3 separate regions of the Homo sapiens genome follow, and regions 1 and 3 are each linked to region 2. The links are contacts of gene promoters, found by promoter capture Hi-C in human tissues and cell types (Jung and others, 2019). All regions are on one chromosome and are shown on one strand. The core of a region is centred on a gene start or on the middle of the fragment in contact, and the rest is flanking DNA. Distances in the headings are between cores, read along the strand shown.

What was found. Contacts are between HindIII fragments. The study calls those that stand out against the background at their distance.
Region 1: a contact is called between a fragment that was not itself captured here and the fragment with the promoter of RBX1 in region 2, in 1 of the 25 tissues and cell types used here (hippocampus).
Region 3: a contact is called between a fragment that was not itself captured here and the fragment with the promoter of RBX1 in region 2, in 1 of the 25 tissues and cell types used here (IMR-90 fibroblasts).

Annotation. Positions count from the first base shown.
Region 1 is chr22:40,646,739-40,649,438 of GRCh38, forward strand. No RefSeq gene overlaps it. Among named protein-coding and RNA genes, the nearest start is that of MRTFA, 11 kb to the left of the region's middle. The HindIII fragment of the contact is 3,334 bases long and covers 1-2,700 here.
Region 2 is chr22:40,950,002-40,952,701 of GRCh38, forward strand. It overlaps RBX1 (ring-box 1), which reads left to right and starts at 1,377. Exons shown (of 5, transcript NM_014248.4): 1 at 1,377-1,475. The coding sequence starts at 1,398. RefSeq lists enhancers at 339-929, 1,444-1,653, 2,109-2,697 and a silencer at 814-1,393. The HindIII fragment of the contact is 18,244 bases long and covers 1-2,700 here.
Region 3 is chr22:40,685,561-40,688,260 of GRCh38, forward strand. No RefSeq gene overlaps it. Among named protein-coding and RNA genes, the nearest start is that of MCHR1, 7.4 kb to the left of the region's middle. The HindIII fragment of the contact is 4,990 bases long and covers 1-2,700 here.

The DNA of each region.
Region 1 (2,700 bases), core at 174-2,673, 300 kb before region 2:
GAGGCAGGAGAATGGCGTGAACCCAGGACGCGGAGCTTGCAGTGAGCCGAGATCACGCCACTGCACTCGAGCACTCCAGCCTGGGCGACAGAGCTCGACTCTGTCTCAAAAAAAATAACAACAACAACAACAAAAAAACTTGCAAAGATTTTTTTTTTCTTAAATAAAAGCTTGCCATGATGTTATAGCCTAGGGTGAGGAGAATCAGACACAAAATTTAAGTGGATGCCAAAAACTTAGCAATTAAGAAAAATAATACAATATTTCAAAAAATCAAAATTAGGCCAGGCGCGGTGGCTCAAGCCTGTAATCCCAGCCTGGCCAACATGGTGAAACCCTGTCTCTACTACAAATACAAAAATTAGATGGGTGTGGTGGCGGGCGCCTGTAATCCTAGCTACTCTGGAGGCTGAGGCATGAGAATCACTTGAACCCCGGAGGCGGAGGTTGCAGTGAGCCGAGATCACACCACTTGCACTCCAGCCTGGGCAATAGAGCGAAACTTAGTCTCAAAAAAAAAAAAAAACAAAAAAAAACAAATGTAGGCTTGGAGCTGCCGGTGGCCATCTAGCTGTCAGAAGGCAAGAAGAGATTTGAAAATAAGGCCCAGGCCAGGCGCGGTGGCTCACACCTGTAATCCCAGCACTTTGAGAGGCCGAGGCCGGCGGATAACCTGAGGTCAGGAGTTCCAGACCAGACTGGCCAACATGGTGAAACCCCGTCTCTACTAAAAATACAAAAATTAGCCAGGCATGGTGGCAGGCACCTGTAATCCCAGCTACTTGGGAGGCTGAGGCTGGAGAATTGCTTGAACCCGGGAGGCAGAGGTTGCAGTGGGCCGAGATCGTGCCAAGAGTGAAACTCCCTCTCAAAAAAAAAAAAAGAAAGAAAGAAAAGAAGGCCATGTCTACAGCCATATCACCCTGAACACACCGGATCTCATCTGAAAATGAAACCAAATAACAACAAGGAGCAATGAAGGGTATAGAAGAGACAGGGGCAGAGTCCCCATGATATGATTCAAACCCCTGGATGGAGCAGCGCCTGAAGTCCTTAGCATATGGGGCAAATCACAAAGTTGGGTGGGGAGGTGATAAAGACTCCAGCAATTATGTGGAACTCTGCACTTTGAGTTGGTGGAACAAGTTATACTGATTTCTCTCCTTACCAAAATGCTACCTGATTAGAACAGCATTCTGAAGTCATTCTTTTTTTTTTGGAGATGGAGTCACCAAGGCTGGAGTGCAGTGGTGCGATCTTGGCTCACCACAACCTCTGCCTCCCCAGTTCAAGCGATTCTCCTGCCTCAGCCTCCCGAGTAGCTGGGATTACAGGCATGCACCACCATGCTCGGCTAATTTTTGGATTTTTAGTAGAGACGGGGTTTCACCATGTTGATCCACCTGCCTTGGCCTTCCAAAGTGCTGGGATTACAGGTGTGAGCCACCGTGCCCGGCTGTGAAGTCATTTTTTTACATGTCTGTTTGTGCTGCCTTCCTACCTACTCATTCTGAAGTGATTATTTTTTTCTTGCCTGGATGGACAAGGAGACTCAATACCCCACTGCACCTGAGTTTTGGAAAACTAGAGTGTGGAAAAAGCAGCAGCAGCTGCAGCAAAAACACTGATGAGAGTCAAACTGAATGATTATATTACACTAATGGTACCAGCTCCCGACAGGTGAATAAAATGTGCCTCATGATAGCAGTCATACAACAAATACCTTACAAGAAACTCACAGAGAAGAGGGGCAGAGCAACTCAGTGGAAAAGCAGGTGTGGTTTCAAAGCCTGGCTCTGCCCCGAGCCATGTGACCTTAGGAAATAGACTGTGTCCCTGAGTTTCAATCTCGTCACCTGTAAATTAGGAGTAACCATACAGATCGCAAGTCAACACCTGCCCTTGCACCGCTGCGGGGCTCAGCGGTCACTGACATGCAGTGAAAAAGTGGAAGTTCTAGCTGGGCGCGGTGGCTTATGTCTGTAATCCCAGTACTCTGGGTGGCTGAGGTGGGCAGATCATGAGGTGAGGAGTTCGAGACCAGCCTGGCCAACATGGTGAAACTTCGTCTCTACTAAAAATACAAAAATTAGCCAGGCATGGTGGCGTGTGCCTGTAATCCTAGCTACTCTGGAGGCTGAGGCAGGAGAATCGCTTGAACCCTGGGAGGTGAAGGCTGCAATGAGCCGAGATCGCGCCATTGCACTCTAGCCTGGGCGACAGAGCAAGACTCTGTCTCAAAAAAAAAAAAAAAAAAAAAAGGAAAGAAAAGTAGAAGTTCCTTTCCCGTCTATCCTGGGTCTTCACTGTCTACGTGCGTCCCCTCACTCCCAGCTGCTTGGGACCACGCTGTGCTTTGGTGTGGGTCAGTACCTGGACCCCTGGCCTGTCCCCTCAAGGTGTGCTTCTTCCTTCCCACAACACCAGGCCAGAGGTACTTGCTTTCCTTTCTCATCTTGGGTCTCTATTTTCCCACACCGTGGTGTGTCCCACACTTTACGGAGTGTTGGGGTGAATACAGAGAATGACAACAGAGAACTTATAGCTGTGGCCTAAACCTCATTGTAATGAGATGGAGAAAATTGTGTTCACTGGAACTCCCTTCAGAGGAAGCATTGTTTATTTATTCAGAAAAAAAAAAATTCTTTGGCCCAGTGCAGTGGCTCATACCTGTAATCCTAGCACTTTGGGAGCCCAAGG
Region 2 (2,700 bases), core at 127-2,626:
ACACCTCTGCAAGGTTAGAGATGTCAAAGGGAGTCCTGGTCTAGCCAGAAATGGGAGAGTGACAAAGTACAGGTGCTTGGGTCGGGTGGGATGGCTCACTCCTGTGATCCCAGCACTTTGGGAGGCCGAAGTGGGAGGATCACTTGGGCCCAGGAGTTCGAGACCAGCCTAGGCAACATAGTGAGACCTTGTCTCTATTTTTTAAAAAAATTAAAAAAGAAAAAAAAAAAAAGCGGCTCTAGCACTTTGGGAGGCCGAGGCAGGCGGATCACCTGAGGTCAGGAGTTCGGGACCAGCCTGGCTAACGTGGTGAAACCCCGTTTCTACTAAAAATACAAAAAATTAGCCGGGCGTGGTGGCGGGCGCCTGTAATCTCAGCTACTCGGGAGGCTGAGGCAGGAGAATCGCTTGAATCCTGGAGGCGGAGGTTGCAGTGGGCCGAAATCGCGCCATTACACTCCAGCCTGGGCAACAAGAGTTAAAAAAGAATGCCTCACAAAAATTCAAGAAATACAGCGACTGCAGATGGGTCGGTTTCACTACAGCACAAGCAGCGGAAAAAGGACACAGATCGGGGAGAAATCACCCTACAAAGATGACAACTGAGGAATGCGGAGTGGGGACTGACACACGTTACGGTGAAACCGTGCACCACGACCAAAGGCGGTCCTAGGACTGCGACTATGTGGGCGCAGAGGCCACCCCCCAGGCTTGGCGGGCGAGTAAAGGCAGGGCTGGGGGCCTGCTCAGTGTGGCCTTAGGGAGGAACTTCGGGGGTCTCCTCTCTCCCCATCGAATCCCTGAGCAGTTCCCGAACAGAAATCGGAGACCAGACGGTGCCTGGGCCCCAGCCCTCCCACGGGGACTGCACCTTGGGCCTGGCTCGGAAGCGGGTCAGAGTCTGCGAAAGACCAGCGAGGACTCTTGGGTTTCGGGGCAGGCCGCGGGCGCCCACCCACGCCAGCACCGGGAGCCGCGCGGCGACTCGGCGAGCCCGGCAGGCAGGACAGGACTGCGGCGCAGGTCTGGCTCAGGCGGAGGAAGCAGCCGCCGCCCCAGCTGACGGAGTGCGGCCGGGGGCTTCCCAGAGGAGGCGGCGACGTCGAGCCCTTTCGAACGTTTCCACCCGGCTAGCTCACGTAGCCTCGGCCCCGCCCGGCCCCGCCCGGCCCCGCCCCACCCACTCCGGCCACCGCCCCCTCCCCGGCCTACAGTTCGCGGGTGGGGCGACCTGCGACAGCCCCTTTAAGAGGCGTGGTCACGTGCTCCGCCCCCACCTCCGCCTCGCGCGCCAGTAAGGGGTGGGGTGCGGGAGGAGGTGCCGGGGAGGTGGGGGGAGCGAAGTGTGCGCTGCTGCGCAGGCGCGGTGGTCGGACGACAGACCGTGTGTTTCCAAAATGGCGGCAGCGATGGATGTGGATACCCCGAGCGGCACCAACAGCGGCGCGGGCAAGAAGCGCTTTGAAGTGAAAAAGGTTGGGTCTCGCCAGCGCCTTCCTCAGGGAAGCTAGAGAGGCGCGGATCTGGCTGGCAGGCCCGAGGATGGTCGAGGCGCGGAGTAAAGGGTTTCATTTCAGGGCGTTCCTGGGACCGGGTACCACGAAAGGAAGCCGGGGGGCGGGTCTTAGAGTTGATCGGCGTGACGGCGGCCCACTGTTGGGGGAAGTGTTGGTTTCGCTGTGAGGCTAAGGGGCCAATCACAGAGCTGCTTATTGAGATACGCGGGGTTGCGACTTGGCGGCGGGAGCCAAGCGCTTGAGCTGTCACTGGAGTGGTTGAGAGGTGGGGGAAGGACAGGGTAGGGTGGGGTGGGGTGGGTGGAATGGGGAGTCGAAGCGAATGCGGCGGTGGAGGATGGGGCAGTGCGGCGAGAGCCTGGAACCTGAGGTCCTACCGCATTAGAGGCCTCTGAGGACCCCCCTTGGTGATCTTGCTCCGCCCCTTTTTGAAGCTTGGGGTCCTCTCACTTGGAGGGGTCCTCTCACTTGGAGGGATCCTCGCTGAACCGAGGCCTCACACTGCCTGGTTAGAGTCTGGAGTGTAATGCTTGGCTCTTCTGAGACGTCTGTTGGCTTTTCACACAACCACCCCACTCTTGGGTTCTCTGTCACGTCCAGAATCTCCCCCTTCCAAAATAATAATAAAAAGCATGGTGGAACTTGTTAAGAAAATCCGAGCCCAAATCCTGTGGCAGTTAGGGAGGGTTGAGTACTAGTCGCGAACGACTTGGTAAGCGTGGGAAAGCAAAAATGGAACGTGTCTTTTTGCATGAAATGCCTTTTAGTGGTTTGCCACAGTTTGGGAGAACAGTATCGATTCTCACCTAACATGAAAGCTGTTCAAAATGGAGATTCTAAAATAGGGAAGATATTCCTAGAACATCTGGCTAAACACTGACAATATCCCCCGTCCTAGTGCTTTTTGGTGTCTCATTGTGGCCACTGCTGCTCAGTTACAGCCAGCAGCCATATTGAAAAATAATAGAAGTAGGGGCTTTTCCTCCACCTTGAAGCTGTGATGTGAAAAGTGGTAAAGAAGTTACTAGGCACTGAGAATGGGGTTTGAAAGCGAAGAAGGTTTGGGAGTATTTGTAATTGAGGAAGCCAGAGTTGAATGAATGAAATTCTGTTAAACTCTTACTGGAATTATTATCTTAATAGAAGAGTCTAAACATATAAAAGTTGAGAACATCAGTTTATT
Region 3 (2,700 bases), core at 38-2,537, 260 kb before region 2:
AGACTTTCACAGCTGAGAGACATTGACCTCAAAGTTTAGGTTGCAAGTGAGTCCACAGAACCACTTCCGCACATTGCTGTTCACAAGAGAAGCAAGAAGAGCACCAAACACGGCAACTGGCATTGGGTTTGTGTTTGCTTGTTCCTTTCTGAATCATCAGTTTTCATTTAATTAATTAACTTATTTTTATTTATCTATTTATTTTGAGACAAGATCTGGCTCTGTTGCCCAGGCTGGAGTACAGCGGTGTGATCTCAGCTCACTGCAGCCTCGACCTCCTGGACTCAAGCAATCCTCCCCCAACTTCAGCCTTCCAAGTAGCTGGGACTACAGGTGCATGTCACTATGCCCAGCTATTTTTTGTTTTGTTTTGGTGGAGACGGGGTTCCACCATGTTGCCCAGGCTGGTCTTGAACTCCTGAGCTCAAGCAATCTGCCCACCTCAGAGTCCCAAAGGGCTGGGATTACAGGTGTGACCCACTGTACCTGGCCTAATATACATATTTATTTATTTATTTATTTATTTATTTTTATTTATTTTTGAGACAGAGTCTCGCTCTGATGCCCAGGCTGGAGTGCAGTGGTGCAATCTCAGCTCACTGCAATCTCTGCCTCCAGGGTTCAAGCAATTCTCCTGCCTCAGCCTTCTGAGTAGCTGGGATCACAGGCATGCGCCACTACGCCTGGCTAATTTTTGTAGTTTTGGTAGAGACAGGGTTTCACACTGTTGACCAGGCTGGTCTTGAACTCCTGACCTCAGGTGATCTGCCCACCTTGGCCTTCCAAAGTGTGGGATTACAGGCAAGAGCCACCACGCCCGGCCTCTTTTTTATTGTGGTAAAATACACCTAACATAAAATTTACTATTTTAACAATTTCAAGTGTACAATTCAGTGGCATGAAATACATTCACGTTAATGCGCAGCTCTCACCACCATCTATCTCCAGAACTTTTCCATCTTCCCAAACTGAAATTCCATACCAATTAAACACCAACTGGCCATTCCTCTGTCCCCATAACTCCCAGCAACCACCGGGCTACTTTCTGTCTCTGGATTTGACTGCTCTAGGAACCTCATATAAGTAGAATCACACAGAATTTGTTCTTTCGTGACTGGCTTATTTCACTTGGCATAATGTCCTCAAGGTTCATCCACGTTGTCATATGTGTCAGAATCTTCCTCCTTTTAAAGGATGAATGAATATTCCATTGTATGTGTATACCACATTTTGTTTATCCATTCATCTGTTGTTTCTACCTTTTGGCTATTGTGAACCTGACTGCACAACTATCTGTTGGAGTCAGTGCTTTCCATTCTTTTCAGCATATACCCATAAGAATTGCCAGATCAGGCCGGGCACGGTGGCTCAGGCCTGTAATCCCAGCACTTTGGGAGGCCGAGGCAGGCAGATCACGAGGTCAGGAGATCGAGACCATCCTGGCTAACACGGTGAAACCCCGTCTCTACTAAAAATACAAAAAATTAGCCAGGCATGGTGGCGGGTGCCTGTGGTTCCAGCTACTCGGGATGCTGAGGCAGGAGAATGGCGTGAACCTGGGAGGTGGAGCTTGCAGTGAGCTGAGATTGTGCCACTGCACCCCAACCTGGGCGACAGAGTGAGACTCCATTTCAAAAAAAAAAAAATTAGCTAGGCATGGTGGCGGGTGCCTGTAGTCCCAGCTACTTGGGAGGCTGAGGCAGGAGAATCACTTGAATCTGGGAGGTGGAGTTTGCAGTGAGCTGAGATTGCACCATTGCACTCCAGCCTGGGCGACAGAGTGAGACTTCATCTCAAAAACAAAACAAAACAAAACAAACAAAAAAAAAGCCAGATCAGGGGCCGGGCACAGTGGTTTATGCCTGTAATCCCAGCACTTTGGGAGGCCAAGGCAGGAGGATCGCCTAAGCTCAGGAGTTCGAGACCAGCCTGGCCAACATGGTGAAACCTCATCTCTACTAAAAATACAAAAATTAGACAGGCATGGTGGCACATGCCTGTAATCCCAGCTTGGGAGGCTGAGGCAGGAGAATCACTTGAATCTGGGAGGTGGAGGTTGCAGTAAACAGAGATCATGCCACTCATACTAGCCTGGGCTGCAGAGTGAGACTCTGTCTCAAAAAAAAAAAAAAAAAAAAAAAAAAAAGGAAAAAATAATTGTCATATCATATGGTAGTTCTATTTTCAATTTTTTGAGAAACTGCCATAGTGGCTGTACCATGTTACATTCCCATCAACAATGTGCAAGTGTTCCCATTTCTCCACATCCTCATCAACACTTACTTTCTTTTTCTTTTTAAAATAAAAGACATTCTAATGCGCCTCAAGTGGTTTCATTGTGATTTTGATTCGCATTTCCCTAATGATTAGCAATGTTGAGCATCTGGTCATGTGCTTCCTGACTATTTGTATTTCTTCTTTGGAGAAATGTCTATTCAAGTCTTTTGCCCATTTTTAAAATTGGGTTGTTCTTTTGTTATTGTTAGCAACTATATTTTACTCAATTCAAACTAGTAATAACTGGTTCTGCATGACTTGTTACTAAGAAAAATAAAAATAAATGTCAAAAAATTAAGCTCCTTCTCCTCTGCAGTTCAATAAATTACTTTTTTCTTTTTCTAAATTGAGCACTGGGATGGAGAACCACTTGTTCCTCAAACCTCTTCTTCCTCCCATACCTATGATCTGTAATAAGTCAAA